Linked DNA regions of Homo sapiens: all the other regions are linked to region 1. The links are contacts of gene promoters, found by promoter capture Hi-C in blood cells and fetal thymus (Javierre and others, 2016). All regions are on one chromosome and are shown on one strand. Each heading gives the region's core, a stretch centred on a gene start or on the middle of the fragment in contact. The rest is flanking DNA. Distances are from core to core; before and after follow the strand shown.

Region 1 (3,428 bases), core at 667-3,166:
ACCTCAGGGTGGCCCCTGAGAAATATGCTTTTTGTAACTAGGGGTAGCTCAAGCTTAGAAATAAGGGCAAGCTGGCTAATGGGTTAGTCTGGACCAAATCCCTTTCCACTGGATACCTCACCTACTGCAGCCTGGATGATGTGCAGTCAAAAGTTTCCCCCCACAAGAAAAGTCAGATTGCCCTCCTTTAAACTCTTCCTTGTTACCTCTCTTCACTCTACAGTGAATGCCATCCTGGAAATGCAAACCATCTCAATAATTGAGCCCATGTCCAATGGAATTAAACAATATGCTGACTGTGAAATTACATTATGATTTCTAGAGTGAGTAGCAATATTTTGTCGGATGATGTTGATATCCCTTTGCAGTCATGTGAACAAATAGGAATAGGATCTTCATAGCAATACACAAGATGAAGGTCCTTGTGCTACCCCACACAGTGCTGTCTCCACCTTGCAGGATAAAGGCTGCAGTTCCAAAGCTCCCGGCTGATATCGGCATTTGCTCCTTTGCACCTCTCTGGTCCTCACACAAAGGAGCCTTCAGATGGCTGTGTGTGGCCAGAAGCCAGTCTCCCACTTACCTGACTTTGAAATCTTCCACAACATCCTGCATGTTCCTCAGTTCAGCTTCAAGCCTGCCCCTCTCGGTGGTGATGCTTTCCAGCTGCCGTCGGAGCTCACTGGTATAGGAATCAAAGAGGGGCTCTAGGTTCTGCCTCACAGTCCTGGAGCCCTGCTCCTGCAGGAGGGCCCACTTGGTCTCCAGGACCTTGTTCTGCTGCTCCAAGAACCTCACCTGGAGGGAAGAAGAGAGAATGAAACCTTGAGAAGTTGGAGAGGCAGAGTTAGACACTCCTATTAATAAGGGAGAGAAGAAAAAGATATTTTTTTCACTTGGCACCCATTGACAATAATGTAACTGACAACTCCAACCCAAAAGGAGGCAGTCCATGGAGCTACCGCAAAGTTCCCTAGGGCTTGCATAGGATTCGGGTGGTGGGGCCTAGAGGCTTCTGTTGGGGAGCTGCTCTTGGGTTAAGTTTCTCAACACCACCTACTCTGGGTTAGGGTAGTTTGCTGAGCAGCAACTCTCCTGTAGAGAATCAACAAAACTCTTCCCTTGGTGTTGACTGAACCAGCCCATGTGGCTCCGAAAGAGAGGAAATTTCTACCAGGTCCTGTGGGGCAAGCTGGCCTGACTTGGAAGGGTCTCAGCCCCTGGGAGCCCGTGCTGAACAGTGCTCATTCCCACAGTGGGGTCATTGCATTATTGCTCTCCCCCCATGGGATGGCCCTTCCAAGAGTTTATTTGATCCCAAACCCAAGGGGGTGGATGAAGCCCCTGCTTACCTTGTCGATGAAGGAGGCGAACTTATTGTTGAGGGTCTTGATCTGCTCGCGCTCCTCGGCCCGCACCCGCTGGATGGTGGGGTCGATTTGCAGGTGAAGAGGAGTCAGGAGACTCTGGTTGACAGTGACCTCTTGGATGCCTCCAGGGGGACACACGGGGAAGCTGGGGCCACTGAAGCCTCCTCCAACTCCACCCCCATAGCCAAATCCACTGTTGACTCCAAACCTGTTGCTGGCCCTGCCACCAAAGCCACTTCGGCAGCTGCTGCCACACCCATTGATGGAGACCCGCTTGGCACCCCCCAGGTTGTAGAGGCTGCGGCTTCCAAAGCTGGCCCCAGCACTGCTGATCCTTCCCAGGCCCCCACTCCCTGCTGCAGAGCGGGCCACAGAGACAGAGCTGAAGCGGGAGCGGCCAGCTGCCGGGGTGATGGCCGAGGTGGTGCTGAAGCCCCTGCGGCTGCCAGACTGGAAGGTGATGGAGGACTGCCGAGACATGGTGGGTGAGGAAGGCCGGCGAGAAGGCACCTGAGGTGGGCTGGTACAGGCAGTGGAGAAGACAGGTGGCTGGAGAGCCCTGGTCTCGTGGCTTTTATGAGCATCCTGTGGGGGCGGGGCACTGCTAGTGGAGAGGGCCTTCTGATGGCATTCCCTGGGCATCCGCCAACCCTGAGCTCACACTCGGCATCCCTCGGGAAATGGTGTAAGGGCCACTGGCTGGTTCCCTGGCACCCCCTCCCCACAACGTGCAAACTCCTTTCCAGTTGCAACTTGATCAGCATATGAGTAAGAAGCAAGTTAATTGCTTTCCGTCATGTGCTAATGATGCATCTTGTAAAGGACTCAGCAAACACTGCCTCATTTCTAAACCGCTTTCTTAGGCCTGGGACCAACTCCGTCCTGTCCAAACATCTTGTGTTAATACAAGCCACTACACTTCACTGTTTCCTTGGGGTGCTTCCTATTCCCTAAGCATTTTCTCAGCACCTACTGCCTGGTTCCCCAAGCCCCATCAAGCTGTCTTTCCAAACCTTGAAGGTCGCGCTCTGTAATCATCTTCCTTAGGAATCCACCCCATTTTGATTGCCCCTTTATTCTGCTCTTAAGCTTCCGTGTCTATTGTGTAGGTCACACATGGTTTTCTGGAGTGTATGTGTGCCTGTGCCCTGCCCACTGCAATATAATGTGACTCTCAAGGCCAGCCAGTGCTCTGTCTCCTGGGAAGAGAGGTTGTGAGAGGAGAAAGACTCGGGTTTGAATCTCAGACCTGCTCATAGTTGTGGGACCTTGAGCAAGCCATGAAACTTTTCTGTGCCTCAACTTTCATGTCTGTAAAATGGGGTTTGTAATGAATATTCACATGTGAAAACTTTCGCAATGCCCGGTATATGTAAGTGCTGAGTAAATGTCTATTGAGGCTCCCCTCTTTCTGATACAATCAAGTAATATTAAGGAAGTGCCAACCATGTCCATCCTGTGACTAGTCCTGTGGGAATTCAAAAGAAACACAATGCACATTATTTATCTTCAACAAGCTCATGGTCCTGTTGGGAAGATAAAACTGTACAAGATGGTGTACCATGAATCATCACCTCCAAGCTGCATTTGAGGCTGCCTATCCCAGAAGTCTCCCAGGCAGTTTCCTCCTCCTCCTGAGGACCAAGAATTCCTAGCTCTCCAGTCCTTCATCAAAAGAGCTCCAACAGCTGCACCTAGCAGAGGATTCGTTCCTTCCCTGTTTCTCCTGTTAACCTTGTAGACTGTGCCCTACATTCTATATTAGTCTACAAACCGCAAAGAAGACTTCAAGGCACCTCATCTCTCTGTTCTGCAACTCATTGCCCCATCTCTACCATGGGAAGAGTCAAACCAAAACATTGCTGAATCTTCTTTTTTTTTCTGCCTTGAGACAGGGTCTCACTCTGTCACCCAGGCTGGAGTGCAGCAGCTCAATCTCGGCTCACTGCAACCGCCACCTCCTGGGCTCAGGTGATCATCCCACCTCAGCTTCCTGAGTAGCTGGGACTACAGGCATGCTCCACCATGCCTCTCTAATTTTTTTACTATTTTGTAAAA
Region 2 (3,428 bases), core at 1-2,500, 480 kb after region 1:
AATTTTCAGGAGGGCAGAGGTGCATGATGATAAGCAGGTGTTTTTGAGCACGTGTCTTTATATGCATGTATCCATATAAATACAAAGCACACATGTTTGATGGGTTATCTCCCAGAACAAACAGCCTCACAGGCCCACCCCCCACCCTGTGGGCACACAACCTCAGCCTATAGCACACACGCCCTCTTGTCCCTCACACACTCTCTCAGGTTCACACACACCCCACCTGCCCTCTCACTTGCATGGCCTGACGCACACGCCAAGGTGCAGTACCACCTCACATCCTCATCTCAGGCACAAGCATGTGCGTGTACCACCCGTCAGAGTCCCGTGCACACCACCTTCCTACGAACGTCACACACATACCTGTGCACACACAGCCATATATAACACACATCCAAACTCAAATACACGGTTACAGGTTTGTTTGTTTTTTCTTTTATACAGACAGAGGTTTCACTATATTGCCCAGGCTGGTCTCAAAATCCTGGCCTCAGGCTGAGAGAGGTGGCTCATGCCTCTCTAATACTAGCACTTTAGGAGGCCAAGGCCAGCTGATTACCTGAAGTCAGGAGATCAAGACCAGCCTGACCAACATGGTGAAATCCCGTCTCTACTAATAATATAAAAATTAGCTGGGCATGGTGGCAGGCACCTGTAATCCCAGCTACTCGGGAGGCTGAGGCAGGAGAATCGCTTGAACCCAGGAGGCAAAGATTGCAGTGAGCCAAGACTGCCCTATTGCACTCCAGCCTGGGCGACAGAGCGAGACTCTGTCTCAAAAATAAAACAAACAAAACAAAAAAAAAATCCACCGGGTGCAGTGGCTCACGCCTGTAATCCCAGCACTTTGGGAGGCCGAGGCAGGCGGATCACCTGAGGTTGGGAGTTCGAGACCAGCCTGACCAACATGGAGAAACTGTCCTTACTAAAAATACCAAAAAATTAGCATAGTATGGTGGCGCATGCCTGTAACCCCAGCTACTCAGGAGGCTGAGGCAGGAGAATTGCTCGAAGCCAGGAGGTGGAGGTTGCAGCGAGCTGTGATCATACCATTGCACTCCAGCCTGGGCAACAACAGTGAAACTCCGTCTCAAAAACAAACAAAAAATCCTTGCCTCAAGCAATCCTCCCACCTTGGCCTCCCAAAGTGCTGTGACTCCCAAAGTTACAGGTGTGAGCCCCAGCTCCCAGCCAAAGGATACACATTCTTGATTGCAAGTGGCTGAAACCCAACTCAAACAGACTTAAGCATAAAAAGATCATTTCTTATAATTGAGAAGTTCAAGGGTGCATTTGGCTTTCAGCCTAGCCAGATAAGGGGCTCAGTGATATCATCAGGACCAAGACTCTCTTCCTGTCTTTTGGCTATTTTCCTCCATGTTAGCTTCGTCCTCGGGCAGGCCATCTCCCTGCTGCAGGAAGGGCGACCACTAAGGGAGCACCTCTTTCCCGATGCTTCCTGCTGAAGTTCCAGGGCTGACTCTCCAAGGCTGATATAGGTCACATGCTCATCTCTGAACCAATCCCTGTGGCCAGGGGAATAGAATACTATCATGTTGACTAGACTAGACCACATAACAAGACCCTGTGGAGGGGTGATCAGCCCCACCCAACCTATAGAGAAAGGGGAAAAAAAATGTGATTTGGGCCAGGCGCGGTGGCTCACGCCTGTAATCCCAGCTCTTTGGGAGGCAGAGGTGGGCGGATCATGAGGTCAGGAGATCGAGACCATCCTGGCTAACACAGTGAAACCCCGTCTCTACTAAAGATACAAAAAATTAGCCGGGCGAGGTGGCGGGCACCTGTAGTCCCAGCTACTCAGGAGGCTGAGGCAGGAGAATGGCGTGAACCCCAGGGGACGGAGCCTGCAGTGAGCCGAGATCTCGCCACTGCACTCCAGCTTGGGCAACAGAGCAAGACTCCATCTCAAAAAAAAAAAAAATGTGATTCACCAAAAGACCAGGAAGAAATGCTGGACAGGGCCAGGAACCATGCCTCACGCCTGTAATCCTAGCACTTCAGGAGGCTGAGGCGGGTGGATCACCTGAGGTCAGGAGGTCGAGACCAGCCTGGTCAACATGGTGAAACCCCATCTGTACTAAAAATACAAAAAAATCAGCCGAGCATGGTGGTGCATGCCTGTAGTCCCAGCTACTTGGGAGGCTGAGACAGGAGAATCGCTTGAACCCAGGAGGCAGAGGCTGCAGTGAGCCAAGATCCCACCACTGAACTCCAGCCCAGCCTGGGTAACAGAGCAAGACTCCGTCTCAAAAAAAAAAGAAGAGAAAAGAAAAGATAAACAAATGCTGGACAGGCAGAAACAACAGATGTTCACTACATATGCTAACCAAAATGTACACCAATAAAGACGTGGAACCAGAGAAGCCAGGTATAAAGATATCCGTGTACACACCGAGCCCTTCTATAAATACAAATACTACCTGGCCAAAGTCTACCTTCTGTACCTTATCAACGGAATATTGATTTCAGATAAATAAATGATTCAGATGTATGCTATAGGACTTCAGGGGAAGGAGAGAGCCCTTAGATCAAGCTGAGCTTAGGAAAGTAAGATATGGATGGAAAGATCTGGAAATGTGATAAGCCACTGGACAGGAGCGGGATTCCTATGGAAGAGTAGAAAAGCTAGATATTGGGGAGGAGGGTGGGACTAGGGGTTTCAGAGGCCAGACAGAGCTTTTTCTGCAGGCTGCAGGAAGGGAGGAGCAGGATGATGAGCTTAAAGCAGTGCTTTAGGAAAATTAAGCTGGCTGGGGTGTTCAGGATAGATGGTAGGGGCAAAAACTAGGGGCAGGAGACTAGAAAGGGGGCTACTGCAGAAAGCAGGTCTGGAGGCCTGCAGTGTGGTAGGAGCAGGAAGATAGGGATGGACTCAAGCTAGAACCAACAGGAGGTGGCAGTTGACTGCATGGGCGTGAGTCCAAGGTCACTCAGCTGCACTTCTAGCAGCTCCCTGCTGAACCCTAGCACCTTCTGTTCCAGCTAGACTGTTCCATGCACTTGCCATGAGCCACTGGGCTTACCATCGTGTCATCCAATCAGTTTTAGACACAGCTCCTTGGAGACAGAGCAGGTTCCTCCAGCGTCTGTGTCTGGTTCCTGTCTCAGTGCCAGCATCTGCCCAGCAGGGTACTGGCCCAGAGTAGATGCTCCAGAGTAAATGTATAGACCCTCCCCTGAACATGCAGTTTATACTTGCCTCCTTAGCTTGGTTCATCCCACACACACCCCTTCACTCTGGTAACAGCACGATGAGGCTGTCTCAAAACCCACCACAGTCCTCAGCAGCAGAAGCAAGTGTGGACAAGCCCGCCTTCTCGCATGCTGACCATGCTGGAGCAGGGTATGGCTTTTGTCTGACTCTTAGGACTGACTGATGCAAGGAGGTGCCTGGGATAGAGAGG
Region 3 (3,428 bases), core at 437-2,936, 460 kb after region 1:
AGTCGTGCTAAGGGCTTGTGCACTTAGCCCAATGCTGAATGGACAGGGTGGCTGCCTGGAACTCTGTGCTTGTGGCAGTGGAGCAGGACTGTGGGGATGCACTGCCCCACCCAGCTGTGTCCTAACCCCTCCTGCCCTGAACCTTGGAGGTTGTCTCAAGAGTCAGGCAGACCCCTTCACACACTGTGCACACCCATGCACACACAGTACACCCTCCACATGCAAACACAGAATGCACACACGCCCTTTATATCATACACACAGCTTGTAAAAAGGATAGGAAGGGGGTGGTGGCTGTGACTGAGTGGAGTGGGGAAGGGCCAAGTCCCACAATTTCTAGCTTCTAGAAATTGTGGGTATGACACACCCAATGGCTGAGAATAGACTCTGAACCTCTGAGGGGATGGAAAAGCCAGGATGCCTTAGTCCCTGACTGCAAAGATTGAAGGTGATAAAAAGACATGTCTGGCCACAAGGAAAGGCCATGTGCCTGGCCAAGGAGGAGTACAAGCCTGAGAGCTGGACAGCTCTGGGTTCCAATGCCAAATCTGCTAGTTTCTAGATGAGCCAACTACTTGGCTTCTCTGAGCCTGGCTTTCCTTATATGCAGATAGTCCTGATGCCAAGGTGTAGGGGAAGCACACTAAGCTCTCTGCTGATAATGCCCTCAAAAACTTGCTCTGCCTGCCTCTTGAGCCTTGCTGCACAGATCACATGAACCTTGGGATTTGAAAGCACACTGTAAACCAGAAAGCACTGTGCACAGGTCAATGACTATTATACAGGTGTAGATATCTATGGCAACAAGCAAGGTTTCAACCAGGTTTCAATAAAGGAGCCTCTTTAGGAACAGCTGAGGGGGTCAGACTTTCCCGCTGTGCACCCCCTGCTTCCTGGACCCCTCCCAGCTTCTCAGTCCCAAGAAGAGGCCTCCTGACCACCTCCCTCCCACCCCAGTGGACATCAGATGCACACACAAGCAAGGACATTGGCAGAGCTAGCTGAGGTTTTATTTTGGACCAAAAAAAAAAAGCAATTGAATTGTTTTGTAGCTGGAGGCATGGGCAAGGGGGGTCCCCAGGTAGTAAACTCCCCAGGTGGGCTGAGGGCTAGGGCTGAGCCTCAGGTGGGTCTCCTGTTCCCAGTGCTACCCTGCATAGCGGCCTCCTTCCCAGGCTCTGGGGCAGCGCAGGAGGGGTAGGCTGGGAGGGGCTGCCGCAGCTGTTCACTTGGGCAGGACGTCAGAGGACTCAGACACCAGCTTCCCATCACGTGTCTCGATCTTCTTCACAACCACGGCCCTGGAGGAGCTGGTGCGGCTGAAGGAGCTGGAGCCCGCGCCAGAGCCAAAGCTGGAGCCCAGGCTGTAGCTGAGGCCGGGGCTTGTGAGGCCCCCATAGGCCGAGCTCAGACCACCTGGTGAGGGACAGAGGTAGCCACATGAGTACAGAAGCCCACCCCATGGCAGGCTCCATGCCCCTTCTCCCTGCTCATTCCCAACATAGCCCCAGGGATGGGAGGTTAACCCAGCTCTGCCTGATCAGTGATTGCATGGTTCACTACTCCAGAACTGTCAGGGAAAACCAGGAGCAGGGTGGAAAACAGCTGCCATATATATAGCTGTGTGACCTTGGACATTTAGCTGCACCTCAGCTTCCTCAACTGAAGACGTTTACAGGTGTCATATAAAAAATAAATTACAGCCAGGCCCAGTGTCTCATGCCTGTAATCCCAGCACTGATCACAAGGTCAGGAGTTCGAGACCAGCCTGCCCAACACAGTGAAACCCCGTCTCTACTAAAAATACAAAAATTAGCTGGGCATGGTGGTATGCGCCTGTAGTCCCAGCTACTTGGGAGGCCTGAGGCAGGAGAATCTCTTGAACCCAGGAGGTGGAGGTTACAGTGAGCTGAGATCACGCCACTGCACTCCAGCTTGGGTGACAGAGCGAGACTTCGTCTCAAAAAAATTAAATTAAATTAATAAATAAAATAAATCACATAAAACCTGTAGGATACTTAGCACAGTGCCTGGCACACAGCTATGGTTTATTTGGGTGCTTTCTAATAGTAAAGTTACTAAGTAATAAAGTTATTACTGGGGTCCTGAATATGTGCCTCCCCACCCTAGGATTCTCCCAAGAACATGAGTGCTCAGGCTGAGGTCACTGTGAGCGACTGAGCACAGCCCCCTCCCTGGAGCTGAGGCCTCCCTGGGCCCTGCCTCCCGCCCTCATCCCAGGGCCCTGGGACACCCACCTGCATAGCCGCTGGTGGTCTTCGTATGAATACTCATGTTCTGCATCCCAGACTCCAGCCTGTACCCAGACAAATGGGGTGTCAGGACCAACTCCTAGCCCTTCTTGGCCCAGAACAACAGGACCCCAAGTCCCAAGGGGCTTCAGGGGGCTCCCACCGTCCCCACCCCAGGTCCCAGGGATAGGGAAGCAGGTCCGGTCAGAGGTACCCACACCCACCGGCTCTCCTCGCCCTCCAGCAGCTTCCTGTAGGTGGCGATCTCGATGTCCAGGGCCAGCTTGACGTTCATCAGCTCCTGGTACTCACGCAGCTGCCGCGCCATGTCCTGCTTGGCCCGCTGCAGGGCGGCCTCCAGCTCGGACAACTTGGCGTTGGCATCCTTAATGGCCAGCTCTCCACGCTGCTCGGCATCTGCAATGGCGGCCTCCAGGGAAGCCCTCTGTGGGGTAGGGGACAGGTAAGTAGGTCAGGTTGGGTATGCCTTCTCTTCTCCCGTGCTCCCACCCTCCCTCAGGGTCCTCCCCACCACCACCTAGGCTGACTCCCCCCAGCTCAAATTAAATGAGACTAAGGGCCGGGCACAGTGGCTCATGCCTGTAATCCCAGCACTTTGGGAGGCCGAGGCGGGCAGATCACAAGGTCAGGAGATCGAGGCCATCCTGGCTAACACAGTGAAACCCCGTCTCTAGTAAAAATACAAAAAAAATTAGCCAGCCTGGTGGCGGGCGCCTGTAGTCCCAGCTACTCAGGAGGCTGAGTCAGGAGAATAGTGTGAACCCAGGAGGCGGAGCTTGCAGTGAGCCGAGATCACGCCACTGCACTCCAGCCTGGGCGACAGAGCAAGACTCTGTCTCAAAAATAAATAAATAAATAAACGAGACTAAGGAAGCAGATCAGGGAGACATGAGCAGTTTCCAGGTGCTTCCCCTCCACACCCTTCTCACCTGCGACACTGTAAGGTCCCCCTACCCTAACTGGACTAGATCCCTGGGTTCTAGACTTTCCTTAAAGCAGCAGAGCTCAACCTTACCCTGATGCATATGACTGATTAAAGCAGGCTTGGGAGCATGTATCACGAGCCCCAACATACCTGCCCCAGTCCCCTTTCACCTCTGTCCTGGCCCAAGGGACCTTCCCTGCATCCCTTTGCTTCTCAGAAGCAGACTGAGA
Region 4 (3,428 bases), core at 313-2,812, 390 kb after region 1:
ATCACACAGCCAGGAAGTGGTAGAGATAGGAAGTCAGTACTATCTGTCTGACTTCAAAGCTTGTGACCTTACAATGTATAAAACGGTAGGTATAATGTTTTATATGAGTGACTGGCCCACACAGAATATGCAGGGAAAAAAATACACAGCAACTTATACAGCCCTGTACCTCATGGTCCACCAAGACAGCCATGGGGTCTGGCCAGCAGGCTGCAAGCTCTGCAGATGCAGCTCCGCTCCTTTTTGTCCTTACCCTCAGCACATGGTCAGTTGCTTGGTTGATGTGGCCCTGTCCTTACAAGTACCCAATAAGGTATGACACTGTCCTGAGGGGCCAGTTTTGTATCCTCCAATTAACTAAATCCAAATTAATTTCATGACAAACCCTACCATAAACCCAATCCAAACAAGAAGAAAGTTCTAGTCTAGAGCCACATTCTGTGTCCTTATTATTAAATCAGAATTGCAAGAAGCTCACAAAATCTTCAAACTGAGCCTGAGAAACCGAAGGTAGACCTAAGGAAGAACTTCCTATGCAAGAGCGCCTTTACACCCTAGAGTGAGAGAGAAAGAGAGATGAGTTTCTTTCCCTGAAAACGGGGAAAGACATTGCCTTCATATGTGGGCCAGAGGCAGGTGGCTGAACAAGGCGCCACTACCCAGCAGCCACAGCTGGAAGCTTGTCCCCTGCCCCTCCCCAGACCTCCACACGCAGATTCTGCTACTGCCCTCGGTGACCCTTCCTTGTTTGGCAGCTGTTCCCAATCTTTTCACAGAGGGATGAGCAGCCGACAGGGGTGTGGAGCCAGGCGGAGGGAGTGTTTGCTCAGGGCTTTCTGGGTAAGGGAGGCAAGCCCTTACATTCAGCCCTGGGATTAAGGGATCCTGAGGGCTTCTGTCACTCTCATCTCCAAACCCACTGTGTGGTGTGGGAAAGTGCTCCTGCCCTCCCTGGCCAGGCGGGCACCCTCACTCCATTCGGTCACCCAACCTCAACTGCCCCACCGGGCCTGAGTCATTCTTGGGGAACCAGAGACAACACGGGGATCAGAGATTCTGCAGAAAAGGGCCATCAGCGTTTTAGGGAGAGGCCAGTGAGGGCAATGAGAGGACGGGCACTCCTGAGAGCCAGGTATGGGGGTCTGTACCCAGGGGCTCCTCTTTCCCCGGGCCGGAGAGCTGCCCCTGCTGGCCTCCTACCCCAGGCATATACAGGCAGGGGCTTCCCAGCATGTTCTGGCAGCAAAAGCACCCTCATAAACAAAATCACGTGCACAGCCTCATGAGTAAAACAGATAAGGAGAGATGATCCAGTTGGTGCAGAGGAGGGACCATGATCCTTCTCACCTGCTGACCTCCCCCTGCACCCCTGAAAGCAGCCCTTAGGGTCCTCAGTTTGGAAACCCCTGGGTCTGGGCCATTCCCCTCCTTCGACAAGTATGTCTAAGCAGCGCATTATTGTTGGTGGGCCCCCCTGGGCTGCAGTATAATCTCTGAGGCTTTTTTCCATGACAATCAAAAGTTTCTATTGTTCAGTTTTTGAGCCCTAAATATAATTTTTTTGAGACAGGGTCTCCCTCTGTCACCCAGGCTGGAGTGCAATGGTGCAATCACAGCTCACCGCAGCCTCAACAGCCTCAAGTGATCCTCCCACCTCAGCCTCCCAAGTAGCTGGGACTACAGGTATGCATTATCAAACCCAGCTAATTTTTGTATTTTTTTGTAGAGGCAGAGTCTCACCATGTTGCCAGGCTTGTCTTGAACTCCTGGGCTCAAGTGATCCACCTGCCTCAGCCTCCCAAAGTGCTGGAATTACAGGCAGGAGCCACAACACCTGGCCTATGATCTCACTAAAACTGATTTTTTTTTTAACACTGCCACTAAGTTACCGTGGCTTTGGATACATTCTTCCCCTTCCTCAACCTGTTTTCTTATCTATGAAATAAAAAGTTTGGAGTCGATTACATCCAATGCCCCTTCTAGCTCCAGCATCCCCAGGTCTCCATTCCTTTTTCTATATAAGCAAAATAACCTGGTGCTTAAGAGCTTGGGCTATGGAACCAGATTGCTTGGATTCCACACCTAGCTCTGCTACTTCCTAGCTGTGTGACCTTAGGCAAGTTACTTAACCACTCTGTGCCTTATTTTCCTTATAGGCAAAATTAGAATGATAATAGTATTTATATTATAGGCTGTTGTGAAGAGAATCAGTTAAAGGCTTGACAGCAGTTCTGGCACACAGTTGGCACTCAGTGAGCATTAGCAAGTATTCCTCAAAGTGTTGTACATGGGGTGGACTATACTCCATCTGTCTGAGAAGGGAAGCTAGAGACCACCCAAGCTGGTGAGGCAGAGCTGACCCTAAACCGCTAGGCCTTTGTGTTCCTAAGCTGGAGGTTAGGGTTTGGCTGAAAATCCCTCTGCTGGCCTTCCACAGCCCTGGAGGAAGCTTTCTCAGGGCTCTTCGGGGCTCCTCTGAGGAGGACAGAGTGATCAGGCCGGAAGAGTGTGGGATGCATCCCAGCAACTGCCAGGAGCCCTAAGGTTGCCAAGGAAGGGAGCGGAGTGGTGACAGCCTCGGGTCGGGCCAACTGGTTTGGTAGCAGGGTGGGGAGGGCCTGAGAGGTGCAGGGTTGAGAGGCCAGCCAATTGGGGAATCACTTGGGTACAGCTTGAGGAGTGGGGTCCAGACTCAAAGTAGAGAACTGTGGAGATGAAGAGGAAAGAAGGTGATACCAAGAGACGCATGGAGGGAGGAGCAGTAAGATTTGGCGAGTGATGGAGGCAGGAGTAGGACGGAGGTAGCTTCTGGGGTGACAGGACAGAGGGCTTGAAATTGCAGCCCTGGACACTACTGACCCACCTCCAGCCAGCTGGATGACTACAGCATGAGAGGTCACTTCTGTGAGCGTGAATCGCCTCACCTGTAAACTGGAACACCACATGCCCACTACTGAACCTAGGGCTGTGGTGATGGTCACAGGCAAAGTAATGTATGTGTAAACCACAAAACCCAATTAAGTGTGGATTTTTCTTGCCGACTGGATGTGGGGGCTGAGAGAGACATCACTGAGGCCAAGAGGATAAGCTGGGAATCCAGAAGTCAGGGAGTGGGAAAGCAAAGAAACCTGATTCCTGAAAGGGCCTCTATAAGCCAGATGCTTTACACATGTTCTTATCACAACCCACTTTTACAAAGGAGGAAACTAAGGCTCAGAGAGGTTAGGTAACTTGACCGAGGTCATACAGCTAGTAAGTGGCAGAACTTGGATTTAAACCCAAGTTGCCTAGTTCTGAAGCCTAAGACCTCTCCACTGAACAAAGCATGCTGTCTGCCCCTACAGAGTTAGTGGGAGGCTGAACAGGCACCAGGGGTGGCTGGTTAATAGGCAGCCACTTAGCCAGGTCTGGCCTTGAGCAGCTTACAT
Region 5 (3,428 bases), core at 690-3,189, 360 kb after region 1:
CGAGGATGTTGTCCAGGTAGCTCCGCAGGTAGTTGATGTGATTCTCAAAAAGAGGCTCAAGGTTGTTTGTGCCTGAGATGGAACTTGTGCCCTGCTGCTGGAGCAGGTTCCACTTGGTCTCCAGGACTTTGTTCTGTTGCTCCAGGAACCGCACCTGCAATGGTTGCAGGAAGCAACATCAGGCAACACTTGTAGCAGAGGAGCAGAGGGGCCTTCACTCAGGTAGGACTAGGTGTCTATCTCCTGGGCCCCCAGCACAAAGGCCTAGAAAAGATGCAAAGATAGGCTCCTACTGTAGTCAGAGAGATTATGATCAGATGGGTGATGAGTCAGGACACTACACTTGCAGCGTGGTTTGGAAAGTTACAAAGGAAGGGGAAGTAGCTCCTACCTGAAAGCAATAGAATTATTGCTTGTTGTTCCTGGGAACTTCATGACCCTATCTTAACTTCCAAAACCACAGTACACTCTACAAAAATGCACATAAACCTCAGCAGCACCATTTCCACCCACGACTCTACTGACATGCTAGCTCTTCAAAAACAGTGAAGTGATGCTGGGAAGCTGGGAAGCAACACTGGCTGGCATGCCACAGTTAGCATGACAACACCTCTCTTGGGCCTGGAGGGGAGGCAGCCCCATGAGAACTGTCCTGGTCTGGAGAAGCTCACCGAGCACTCTTGTCTTCCTGACTAGGCTGAGTAGGAGTGCAAAGTCACTCATTTCTCTGCGCTCCCTTGGGACTAACTAAGGTTCTTATGCTCTTAATCCCTGCTCCAGGTAATCAGCCTCCTCTGCCTGGCACAGCAATATGAGGGGGAAAGGGCTTCCTGGAAAGCCTCAGAGGGCAGCTTGTATTTGAAAAGCCTCCCATTCTTGGTGGACCCTTCGCTGATGGTGGCTGTGGCCCTTGCCTTGGGCTGCCTGCCCTGCCAGCCTGGGCCTCAATGAGGCAATGACTGGAAACTTCAGCAGGGGTTCCCACAAACAGGATGTGTGGTGCTCAGGTCCAAATAGGGGACTGTTTTCTTTCTACACCTCCCCTCACTTGACCATGTAGACAAACTCCTCAACCCTGGATATCTTCCCAGACCCTAGAGTTCCACCTAACTCCTCACCCTCCAGTCTGGCCTATCCAAGAAACATTTAAACACTGTGTCCCAAAGGTCAAATTCAAAGTCCCCAGCCCAGGAAGGGATGACCAGTCAAAGCTTCATTACCTTGTCAATGAAGGAGGCAAACTTGTTGTTGAGGGTCTTGATCTGTTCCCGCTCCTGGGCCTTTACTTGCCCAATCTGGGGGTCGATCTCCACATTGAGGGGCTGCAGGAGACTCTGGTTGATAGTCACTTCCTGAATTCCCCCAGGAAAGCCCCCAGGGCCAAAGCCACCAGGACTGCCCAAGCTGCCAGGCCCACCAAAGCCACCAGACCCACCAAAGCCACCAGGACCACCAAAGCCACCAGCCCCTCCAAAGCCACCAGCCCCTCCAAAGCCACCAGCTCCACCAAAGCCACCTCCCATTCCTCTGCCACCACCAAAGCCACCACCAAAGCCACCTCCATAGCCGCTCCCAAAGCCACCTCCATAGCCACCTGCAAAGGCACAGCTGCTCCGCCCTCCCCCAAAGCCTCCAGCCCGGGAGCCGCCAGCTGCCACGCTGATGGAGATGCTCTTGTTGCCGCCCAGGTTGTAGAGGCTGCGACTGCCAAAGCCACCTGCTCCGCTCCGGAAGCCATAGGCCCCTCCGCCAGCTCCCCCAGAGTGGGCCACACAGCTCATCCTGCTGCTGCCGGAGACCACAGCAGAGCGGCCGGAGAAACCCTGGCTCCCGCCACCAGATGTCTTGCTGGCTTGTCTGCTCATGGTAAGGAGCTTGGCGAAGAGAAGAGTGTAAGTTAAGCAGGGACACTGAGAGTCAGAGGAAGAGGGATGGGAAATGAAGACCTGTGCAAAATAAATCCCTTTATATACATTTGAGGAGGTTGTTGGGCTCAAACGAAGGAGAGATAATTAATCCCAAATATTCATGGGCTGGGTTTGCCTCCAAGGCAATAAGTTTGTTCCAGGCTACCAAACACACCTTGAAAATAAGCTGAAATGGTAAAAGTGCTAAGGTGGCAGGCTTACCTGGTGAGGGGGTGGTGCCTGGTGTTGCCCCATGTTTGGGCATGGCCTCCTCCTAGCTCTGTCTGACAGGACCCAGGAGGCACGCTCACCTGCATCAGGTGCTCAGCAGCCATCCCTCTGCCTATTAGCTGCACCTGGGCCCTGCAGAGCGGTGCCCAGCTCTGGAGAGGATAGAGTGGAGGAGGTGTGGGGAGGTTCTGCTTCTCTGAGTAGTGGAGACAGTGGAGCCCACTCACAGCTCTGGGAAAGTATCTTAATGGAAGGAGTGATGCAGGTCTCTCCACAATGACTGAGTGCACAGTATGTGCCCAGCTCTACGCTGGCCTTTGGGATGAAGCGCTGACCTCTCCTTCTCCCTTCTTGGAAAAAAGCCCAGAACTATCACAAATCTGCCTCCTGGGTTCTCCCTGTACCCCAAGCTTTAGTTCAGGAGGTAGTGACCTTTTGGTTTATGACTATCTTTGGAGAAAAAGTCAAGTTAACACCTATGTATGTTGAGCAGACACTGGCAAAATCCAACATGCCTAATGTTTGTTTCTCTTTAAAACTTCCCAGAGAAATTATACACTATTACACATCTTGGGGTTTATCTATGGCTTCCTTTCTTGCTCCCCACATTTTGGCCTTTCTCTGGTTTTAGCTTAAGGCCTAGGGAACAAGAAATTCAAATGTCAAGTCAACAACAAATTCAGCAAATATTTACAGACTGCCAAATGTGTGCCAGGCCCTTTGCAAAACTCTGGAGACCCAGTCATGGACAAGACACACAGGGCCCCTGTGGGACCATTTTCTGTTTGAGAGATGTGCTCCTGAGAGTCGCCCATGCCCCCTCACAAACCCCAGAAAGCCAGATCTGGCAGAGCCGGCAGCACTATGGAATATGTCTGACTCCGAAAGCCTGAAACTCTCCCTGTCTGGGGTTGTTCAGAGGCTTATGACTGGGCTTGGTTTGTCCAAAAGAAAGCCATCCTGCACACTCTGGAGCTGGCCAAGTTAGCTGCTTATCTCTCCAGGACAGGCCTTTTTTGTTCTGTCTGCTGCACATTGGGCCCTTCTAAGGGTGTGGTCTGTATGGCCCTGGCAGGAGCCTCCTTAGAATTGGGGGAAAGGATAGAGACTTCTTCAACACCCACTGGGTAGGGCTGGGAGTGGCCCAAGTGCAAAGGAAGTACAATTTTCTTCAGTGGCCTGGTTCTTCCATTTTATCCTTATCTCTCCCATGTGTTACCTGCCAGGCTGTGCAACATCCTAGCTCCTCCCCAGGATAAAACCATAAGCTCTCCAGGAGTTTCCAGTCTT
Region 6 (3,428 bases), core at 336-2,835, 340 kb after region 1:
ATTCCAGGCACTCTCCTCACCTGCGCAGAGACAGGACGAGCTTCATGGGCACGTGCAGTTACACAGGACCCTGGGCTCAGGGTCCTCACACTTAGCTCAATGCTGGCACCATATTGACATTCTTTCTTTTTTTTTTTTTTTTCTGAGACAAGGTTTCACCCTGTCACCTAGGCTGGAGTGCAGTGGCACAAACATGGCTCACTGTGGCCTCAACCCCTCAGGCTCAAGCAATCCTCCTGCCTCAGACTCCCAAATAGCTGGGACTGGAGGCATGCACCACCACGTCCAGCCAATTTTTTAATTTTTAGTAGAGACAAGGTCTCACTTTGTTGCCCAGGCTGGTCTCGAACTGTTGGGCTCAAGTGATTCTCCCTCCTCAGCCTCCCAAAGTACTGGGATTACAGGCATGATTGAAATTCTTAATAATTTTGTAACTAGGTTCCTGCATTATCATTTTGCACTGAGGCCTGAAAATCACGTAGCTGGTCCTGTCCAGAGACCTCTCAGAGCTCAGGGCACTGCCTGGCCCTCTTCCCTCTAAATGCAGTGATGGGCAGAGGTATGGGCAGTCAGTGAGAGGGCAAACTTCAAGGAGCCTGACCACTTGCCTAGGCTCTTTGATTGACTTTGCAAAGCACAATGTGTGCATATGGAACCCAGTGAAATGTGTGCTCTCATTGGGCATTTCTGCCTATTTCCTCAGTTTCTGTTTTCCTTCATTACAGTTACTTCTTATAGGAATTTCAGTTAAGAAAGAATTCATACCTTCTGAATGCATCAAAGTTGTGGGATTCCTGCCTGTTAAGGACTAAAATCTACTACCAAGAGTTTGTATTTCATAAAGCTTGAGGAATTGGACTGATTCTAGGAGAAAAGAGGTCTCTAGGCAGGACCTCTTTTTTTCCTCTAGGAGAAAAGAGGTCTCTGGGATCTCTTTTGGGAATATGAATCTGAGTTGCCACTGAATTCCCAGAGCCCAGCACAGAGCCTGCCACAGAGTGGGTGCCCACCACGTTTGTGTGGTTGAATTGGAATAGGGCCTCTGCAGAGCAGGTGTGCCCGTCCCTGTGGGTTCTGATCCCTGGGGAAGTCGGGAGCTCCCTCCCACCTTGAGAGGCCCAGTTTGCTCCTTGCAGACCTCAGCGGATATGGACTGCAACTTGGAACGTGGAGGAGGAGGCAAACCAAAGCTGCAGAACAGGAGATTGGACGGGACACACTGATAAAGGCCTTTACCAAGTGCAGCCCTGGACCTCTGCCTAGAATCCCCAGGAGCTAGGGGAACACTCACACTCCTGGGGCCTGTCCACACCTATGATTCAGAATACCTAAGACTGGAATACAGGAATACGCATTGTTGACAAGCATCCAAGGTGATTCCTGTGTCCAGTCAAGTGTGGCGGACTCCCCATCCTAAAGGATTCTAAACTCTGGGAGGACTCTTTTGTCCCTCTGGGCTGGAATAGGAGGGGGCCCATCTGGAGCCTGAAATCTGTGTCATAGCCACATGGGAGTCTCAGTCCCCACCCTTTCACCCCCTTCTGCTTTGTCATGTTTCACTCAATAAATCCATCCCAGAGTATTGACTGAAGGCACAGTTGGGAACAGTTGAAATCCCAAATTAGGACCACACCTCCCTGCTAATTCCCCAGAAGGGGAAACTTCCCAGGAGGAGCCCTCACTTCTTTTTGAAGTCTTCCACCAGGTCCTGCATGCTTTTCAGCTCTCCCTCCAGGTTCCCCCTCTCCCCTAGAAGTGAATCTAGCTGCTTGCATAGGAAGCTGATGTAGGATTCAAAACAAGGCTCCAGGCTGCTGGGCCCTGAGCCTGTGGTCTGCTGCTGGAGCAGTTCCCACTTGGTCTCCAGGACCTTGTTCTGCTGTTCCAGGAACCGCACCTGCATGAAAGAGGGGAGAAAAGGAGTCAGCCCCTTGAGTTGGGCATGTGGGGCTGCCCATCCCAAATGTAGAACTGTGGAGAAGGAACCCAGTTCTTCAATCTACAATTTCCCCTGTTTTTTAATTTGGGAAGGATGAAGATTTAGCAAAGGGAGAGCTAGAATTTGTTGAGTGATTATGCCTTACCTGTTATTTTCATGTATTTCCGTCACATTTAATCCTCACAACCACCTATAAAGGAGTTGCTGTGATCCCCATTTTGTAGATAAGGAAACTGAGACTCAAAGAGTTTAAGTTTCCCAAAGTGACAAGTCTACTGAGTGACAAAGCTAAGAATCAAACCCAGGACTGTCCTGGGTCTATAGGGATCCTTCAGAATACCACTGAAGGAGGTAAGCACAAATAAAGTTTGTCATTGTTTTTTAGATGTAAGCTTTTTTCAGCTCCATAAAGGCAGTGAATACAGTCAATGAGGTCTAACATTTCTTTAGAAGTTTCACATAGGAAGACCTCCTTTCAGTTATTCAGCTTGCAGCTGAACTAGAATTCACTTCAGATCCTGGGCTCAGTCCCACACAGACCCAGAACACCCTCCTCTGCCCCAGCATGGACAGCTCAGTTTAATTATTGGCTGAAGCACAGCATCATCTGGAAGGTAAGGCAGCTGCCAATGCACCTCATTTAGATGCAGCCTCAAGATCTGTGCTAACACAAGGTTTTGATTACCAGCTACTTTGGATTATCAAGCAATTGCTTTTCAGGAGAAATTAAAGTAACTGCAATAATTTCATGACTAAAATGGCTCATTCTTCAAAAAGCTAAGAGCATGTTTGGACCCCCACTTCATTTACCCTCATCTCATTCTTAGCAGGAAACCAGGACCAGGAATTCTTCCCCCCATTTCACAGCTGGAAAAAGAAGGCCCAAAAAGTGAAAGGGGCATGATCACTGTCCTGTAGGGACCAAGACAGCACCAGGACAAGAGCCAAGCGCCCCTGCCCTGTGTCTCACAAGTCCCCATGGCATCTTTCTACACCGACCCCTGGGCACCCCAAACCCTCCACAGCACCTCTTGGCCTTGCCCTCACCTTGTCGATGAAGGAGGCAAACTTGTTGTTGAGGGTCTTGATCTGTTCCCGCTCCTGGGCCTTTACTTGCCCAATCTGGGGGTCGATCTCCACATTGAGGGGCTGCAGGAGACTCTGGTTTACAATCACTTCCTGAATTCCCCCAGGAAAGCCCCCAGGGCCAAAGCCACCAGGACCACCAAAGCTGCCAGGCCCACCAAATACACCAGGACCACCAAAGCCACCAGCTCCACCAAAGCCACCAGCCCCTCCAAAACCACTACCTACTCCTCTGCCACCACCAAAGCCACCACCATAGCTGCCCCCAAAGCCACCTCCATAGCCACCTGCAAAGCCACAGCTGCTCCGCCCTCCCCCAAAGCCTCCAGCCCGGGAGCTGCCAGCTGCCACGCTGATGGAGATGCTCTTGTTGCTGCCCAGGTTGTAGAGGCTGCGACTGCCA
Region 7 (3,428 bases), core at 477-2,976, 280 kb after region 1:
CTATGATCAGCTTTCAGCATTCAATGCCAACATTGTCATCTACCTCCCGTCAGCTGATGGCCCCTGCTGGGCTGTTGTCATCCCTTGAAGGGCTTGGGAGGGGAGGAGGGACACACCCACTAACTGAGCTTTTGGTGGAGGGTGATAGCTATGCTCTACTTCCTCAGAAGAAAAAAAAATGACTTAAAGTGAAGCACGAGAGATTTTGCTTGTCTCAAAGGAAGTGTTTCAACTCAGATCAATATTAGTGGGTAAATAATGTTCCTAGGACGAATCACTACCCCTAAAAGAAACTCCTCAGCTGGTTAGACTGCAGAGAGCAGCGGTTTCTAAACTGGCTCACACTGGAATCACCTAGAAAGCTTCAAAATCGCTGGTGCCTGGGCCCACACCTAAGGAGTAGAGTTTAATTGGTCTGGGGCTATGGTCTGGACTTTAGAATTTTTAAAAGGTGGTTTTAATGTGCAGCAAGTTTGGAGACCACTGACCTGGAGGAAACAGGACAAATGAAACAGCCTCTTTAGATTCCATTCAGTCTAAGGACACAGATAGGAGTAACAATCATTATCATAATAGTGAACTTCACCAGGTGATTTCCATGGACCATGCACTGTGCTGTCTATAACATGGAAGGTCTCGTGAAATCTAAATACCAACATCATAAGGAAGATATTCTTACTATGTTCATTTTGCAAATGGAGAAAGTGAGACTTGGAAAGAGAATCTTGTCAAAGAATACACTAATGAAAATAGTGGAATGGAGATTTGAACCCGCGCATTCCCACTTCAGAACCTACATGTATTGCAGAAGAGATGGGGTCGTTGGAGAGAGATGTGCCCGCTTCCTCCTCTCCCCACCTGCCACCTTAAAAGGAAAGTGGGAAGTTAGTTGAAGGCTGCAGCTCACCCAGCCCATCTCCCAGTTACTGAAACCCAGGGCTGCCAAGAAGGTGAGGCCCAGAGCAACTATCAGCCACCTGGATCACAGTTCCAGACAGCAGCGGGAAGCAGGGTTCAGAAGAGCTGCTGGCATGACCAGCAGGAGCAGCTCCCAAAGCTCTATCCCCCACCTCACCCTACATTTCCCAGGGTCTGGAGGTGGATATCACAGAGGTGTGTCAGGGGCGTGGGGCTGGAAAAAGGAAGGGAGAGAGACTCTCACTCACCAGTCCCCACCAAGAAGAGAGTGGAGAGCTGCAGCCCCGGTCTAGGAATGGGGGCCTTTAACCTCCTTGAAATGAGAGCCTTTTGACCTGTCGTCAGCACAGGGGAGGCAGTGATGTGACACATATCGGAGAGAAACCTATTGGAGCTGAATAGAAGCTGCTAGACTTGGCTTCCCCACCCTTGGCCCACTCTTCTTCCTGCGTAACAGCATCACAGCCAAACATATGATGGACGGTATCAGCCCAGTCCTTCATTTTACAAGGAAGAAATGGGTACAAAGACAGGGACTTGGCCAAAGTTACCCAAAAAAGTTGGTGGTGCAGATAGAATGAGAACTTGGCTACCCTCCCCCGAATTCAGAAAGAATAAGGAGGCCTATGTGAAATTCCCAGGTGCCTCTGTGCTCCTGCAGCCTGGGAGAGATGACTATATGGGGCGTTCCACCTTCAATCTCTAACAAGCCTGCACGCAGGCATGAGAAGGTGGTGCCAGGCACACAGGAACATCCCTGGTGAATCCTCTGATTTCTGGGTTGGGGTGTGTGTTTGGGGCAACACCTAGGGCCTTAAGCTCCTACTGAGGCCCAAAACTAGCCTGGACACCACTTTGACATCCCTTTAACTAGAATCTCAGTGTCTGCCTAGAGCATAAGAATCGGGCAGTCTCCTTCCTTCTCGGCAAACCCAATAGGTGCTTTTGGGCCTGGATATTGTCTAGAGGCCTCACTAAGGGCAGCTTGCAAATTCCCACGGCAAAGGTCCAGAGACAATATTGTGCCAAGCGTGTCAAAGCTCTTCCATCCAACATACTGGAAGTCATGACTATTTATACAATCATTTATTTATTTATTTATACAACCATTTATTTGTTTATAATTCACCCAGGCTGAAATGCTCACTGCAACCTCCACCTCCCGGGTTCAAGTGATTCTTGTGCCTCAGCCTGGCAACTCTTTTGTCTCTGAAGCAAAGGGAGCAGCTAGGCAGGTGTGGCCCCAAAGGAAAATAAGGCTACAGGTTAGACTTGGATTGAATTCCAAAAGAAACAGTGAGGTCCCAGCGGAGGAATGGTGCTGTCTGGGCAGAGAATGCTTCTATATGTTGGATCAAAGAGGACGGGCCAGTCTCAAGGTTACAGGGGTAGTTAGTGGTGGGGTGGGACCAGCATTCCAAGTCCCTGAGGGTAATATGAGACCTGCCATCAATTCCAGGTTCGTGTCTCACTTGACCATGATGGGAGAGATTACAGTGCTTTATAACCATAAGGAATTTGCAGTGTATTATTCTCTTCATTTAAAGAATAGACAGGTTCCTGAAACACTGGCCATAATTAGTAATGACCTTTTATTGAGCTCTTACAATGTGCCAAGAATTAAACAGATGACATGATTCCATCCACACAACTGCATTTTACTGATGACTTTTGGGTGAGGGGTCTGGAGGGTGGCTCAAGGTCACACACTCCTGGTAAGGAGTGGGCCCAGATTACACCTAGCAGCTGGGTTCCAAAGCCTGAGAGTTTCTTGCTGTACTATCTTATCTTCTGCTTTATGGGGCAATTTAGGAGGGCTTTGAGGTTAGGCCTTCTGGAGTTTGAATCCTGGTGCCATCCCTTCTAGTTACATGACCTTGGATAAGTTCATTCATCTCTCTGCGCTTTCATTTCCTCTTTTGTGAAGCAGAGGCCATAACACTGCCTACCTCACAGGGCTGTGAAGATTAGATGGGTTAATTCAGAAAAAGCTCAGCACATGTCAGGCAAATAACAAGAGATCATCTACTTTAGCAATTATTACATTATTACAAAAGTAAATTTCTATTAACCAAACTGCATTTTCCATCCAGCTTCCCTTAAATTAGAAAGTCACCATAAGCAGGAAACTGTGGCCCTGTAATATATTGTAAATCATATAAAAGATGCAGACAAGCTTTTCTTTAATCATCTATTTAAAGGAAGATGGCAATTTATTGATGAGTTTGAAACAAGCCAAAAGTATCTCCTCTGTCATTAAGCTAAAGGGCAATCTCTCCAAGCTGCATTCACTGCTTAGGAGGCACATGTGGGTTTGCTTTTTCTTGTTCATTTAGAGAATTTGTTCACCATAGAGAAAATTTCATAATAACTGAAATTTTGTACCCTTTAAGCAACATCTCCCCATTTCTCCCACCCCTACTTCCAACTCCTGGCAACCACCCTTCAACTCCATTTCTATGAGTTTGACTGTCTTAGATTACACATATAGTGAGATTCTAAGGTATTTG

The links. The method cuts DNA at HindIII sites, captures the fragments that hold promoters and counts their contacts. A CHiCAGO score of 5 or more calls a contact.
Region 2: a fragment that was not itself captured here is called in contact with the fragment with the promoter of KRT75 in region 1 in 5 of 17 cell types (M2 macrophages, M0 macrophages, erythroblasts and 2 more); the score reaches 6.7 in M2 macrophages.
Region 3: a contact is called between a fragment that was not itself captured here and the fragment with the promoter of KRT75 in region 1, in 4 of 17 cell types (M0 macrophages, erythroblasts, M2 macrophages and 1 more). The highest score is 7.8, in M0 macrophages.
Region 4: a contact is called between a fragment that was not itself captured here and the fragment with the promoter of KRT75 in region 1, in 2 of 17 cell types (endothelial precursors and naive B cells). The highest score is 6.8, in endothelial precursors.
Region 5: a contact is called between the fragment with the promoter of KRT3 here and the fragment with the promoter of KRT75 in region 1, in 2 of 17 cell types (endothelial precursors and total CD8 T cells). The highest score is 5.5, in endothelial precursors.
Region 6: a fragment that was not itself captured here is called in contact with the fragment with the promoter of KRT75 in region 1 in 1 of 17 cell types (endothelial precursors); the score reaches 7.5 in endothelial precursors.
Region 7: a fragment that was not itself captured here is called in contact with the fragment with the promoter of KRT75 in region 1 in 1 of 17 cell types (endothelial precursors); the score reaches 5.3 in endothelial precursors.

What each region holds. Positions count from the first base shown.
Region 1 is chr12:52,432,455-52,435,882 of GRCh38, forward strand. It overlaps KRT75 (keratin 75), which reads right to left and starts at 1,917. Exons shown (of 9, transcript NM_004693.3): 1 at 1,353-1,917; 2 at 584-798. The coding sequence starts at 1,850. The HindIII fragment of the contact is 2,406 bases long and covers 52-2,457 here.
Region 2 is chr12:52,913,443-52,916,870 of GRCh38, forward strand. It overlaps a transcript of KRT8 not described here. Among named protein-coding and RNA genes, the nearest start is that of KRT8, 10 kb to the left of the region's middle. The HindIII fragment of the contact is 8,808 bases long and covers 1-3,428 here.
Region 3 is chr12:52,896,203-52,899,630 of GRCh38, forward strand. It overlaps KRT8 (keratin 8), which reads right to left. Exons shown (of 8, transcript NM_002273.4): 6 at 2,477-2,697; 7 at 2,259-2,317; 8 at 989-1,416. The coding sequence ends at 1,226. It overlaps MIR9898 (microRNA 9898), which reads right to left and starts at 2,782; the gene lies at 2,687-2,782. RefSeq lists an enhancer at 2,713-3,212. The HindIII fragment of the contact is 5,560 bases long and covers 1-3,428 here.
Region 4 is chr12:52,817,817-52,821,244 of GRCh38, forward strand. No RefSeq gene overlaps it. Among named protein-coding and RNA genes, the nearest start is that of KRT4, 5.4 kb to the left of the region's middle. RefSeq lists an enhancer at 403-904. The HindIII fragment of the contact is 1,770 bases long and covers 678-2,447 here.
Region 5 is chr12:52,794,178-52,797,605 of GRCh38, forward strand. It overlaps KRT3 (keratin 3), which reads right to left and starts at 1,940. Exons shown (of 9, transcript NM_057088.3): 1 at 1,221-1,940; 2 at 1-154. The coding sequence starts at 1,865. The HindIII fragment of the contact is 1,337 bases long and covers 1,210-2,546 here.
Region 6 is chr12:52,773,706-52,777,133 of GRCh38, forward strand. KRT76 (keratin 76) reads right to left here. Exons shown (of 9, transcript NM_015848.4): 1 at 2,987-3,428; 2 at 1,683-1,897. Among named protein-coding and RNA genes, the nearest start is that of KRT76, 1.9 kb to the right of the region's middle. The HindIII fragment of the contact is 1,487 bases long and covers 843-2,329 here.
Region 7 is chr12:52,708,142-52,711,569 of GRCh38, forward strand. No RefSeq gene overlaps it. Among named protein-coding and RNA genes, the nearest start is that of KRT77, 6.3 kb to the left of the region's middle. The HindIII fragment of the contact is 2,732 bases long and covers 361-3,092 here.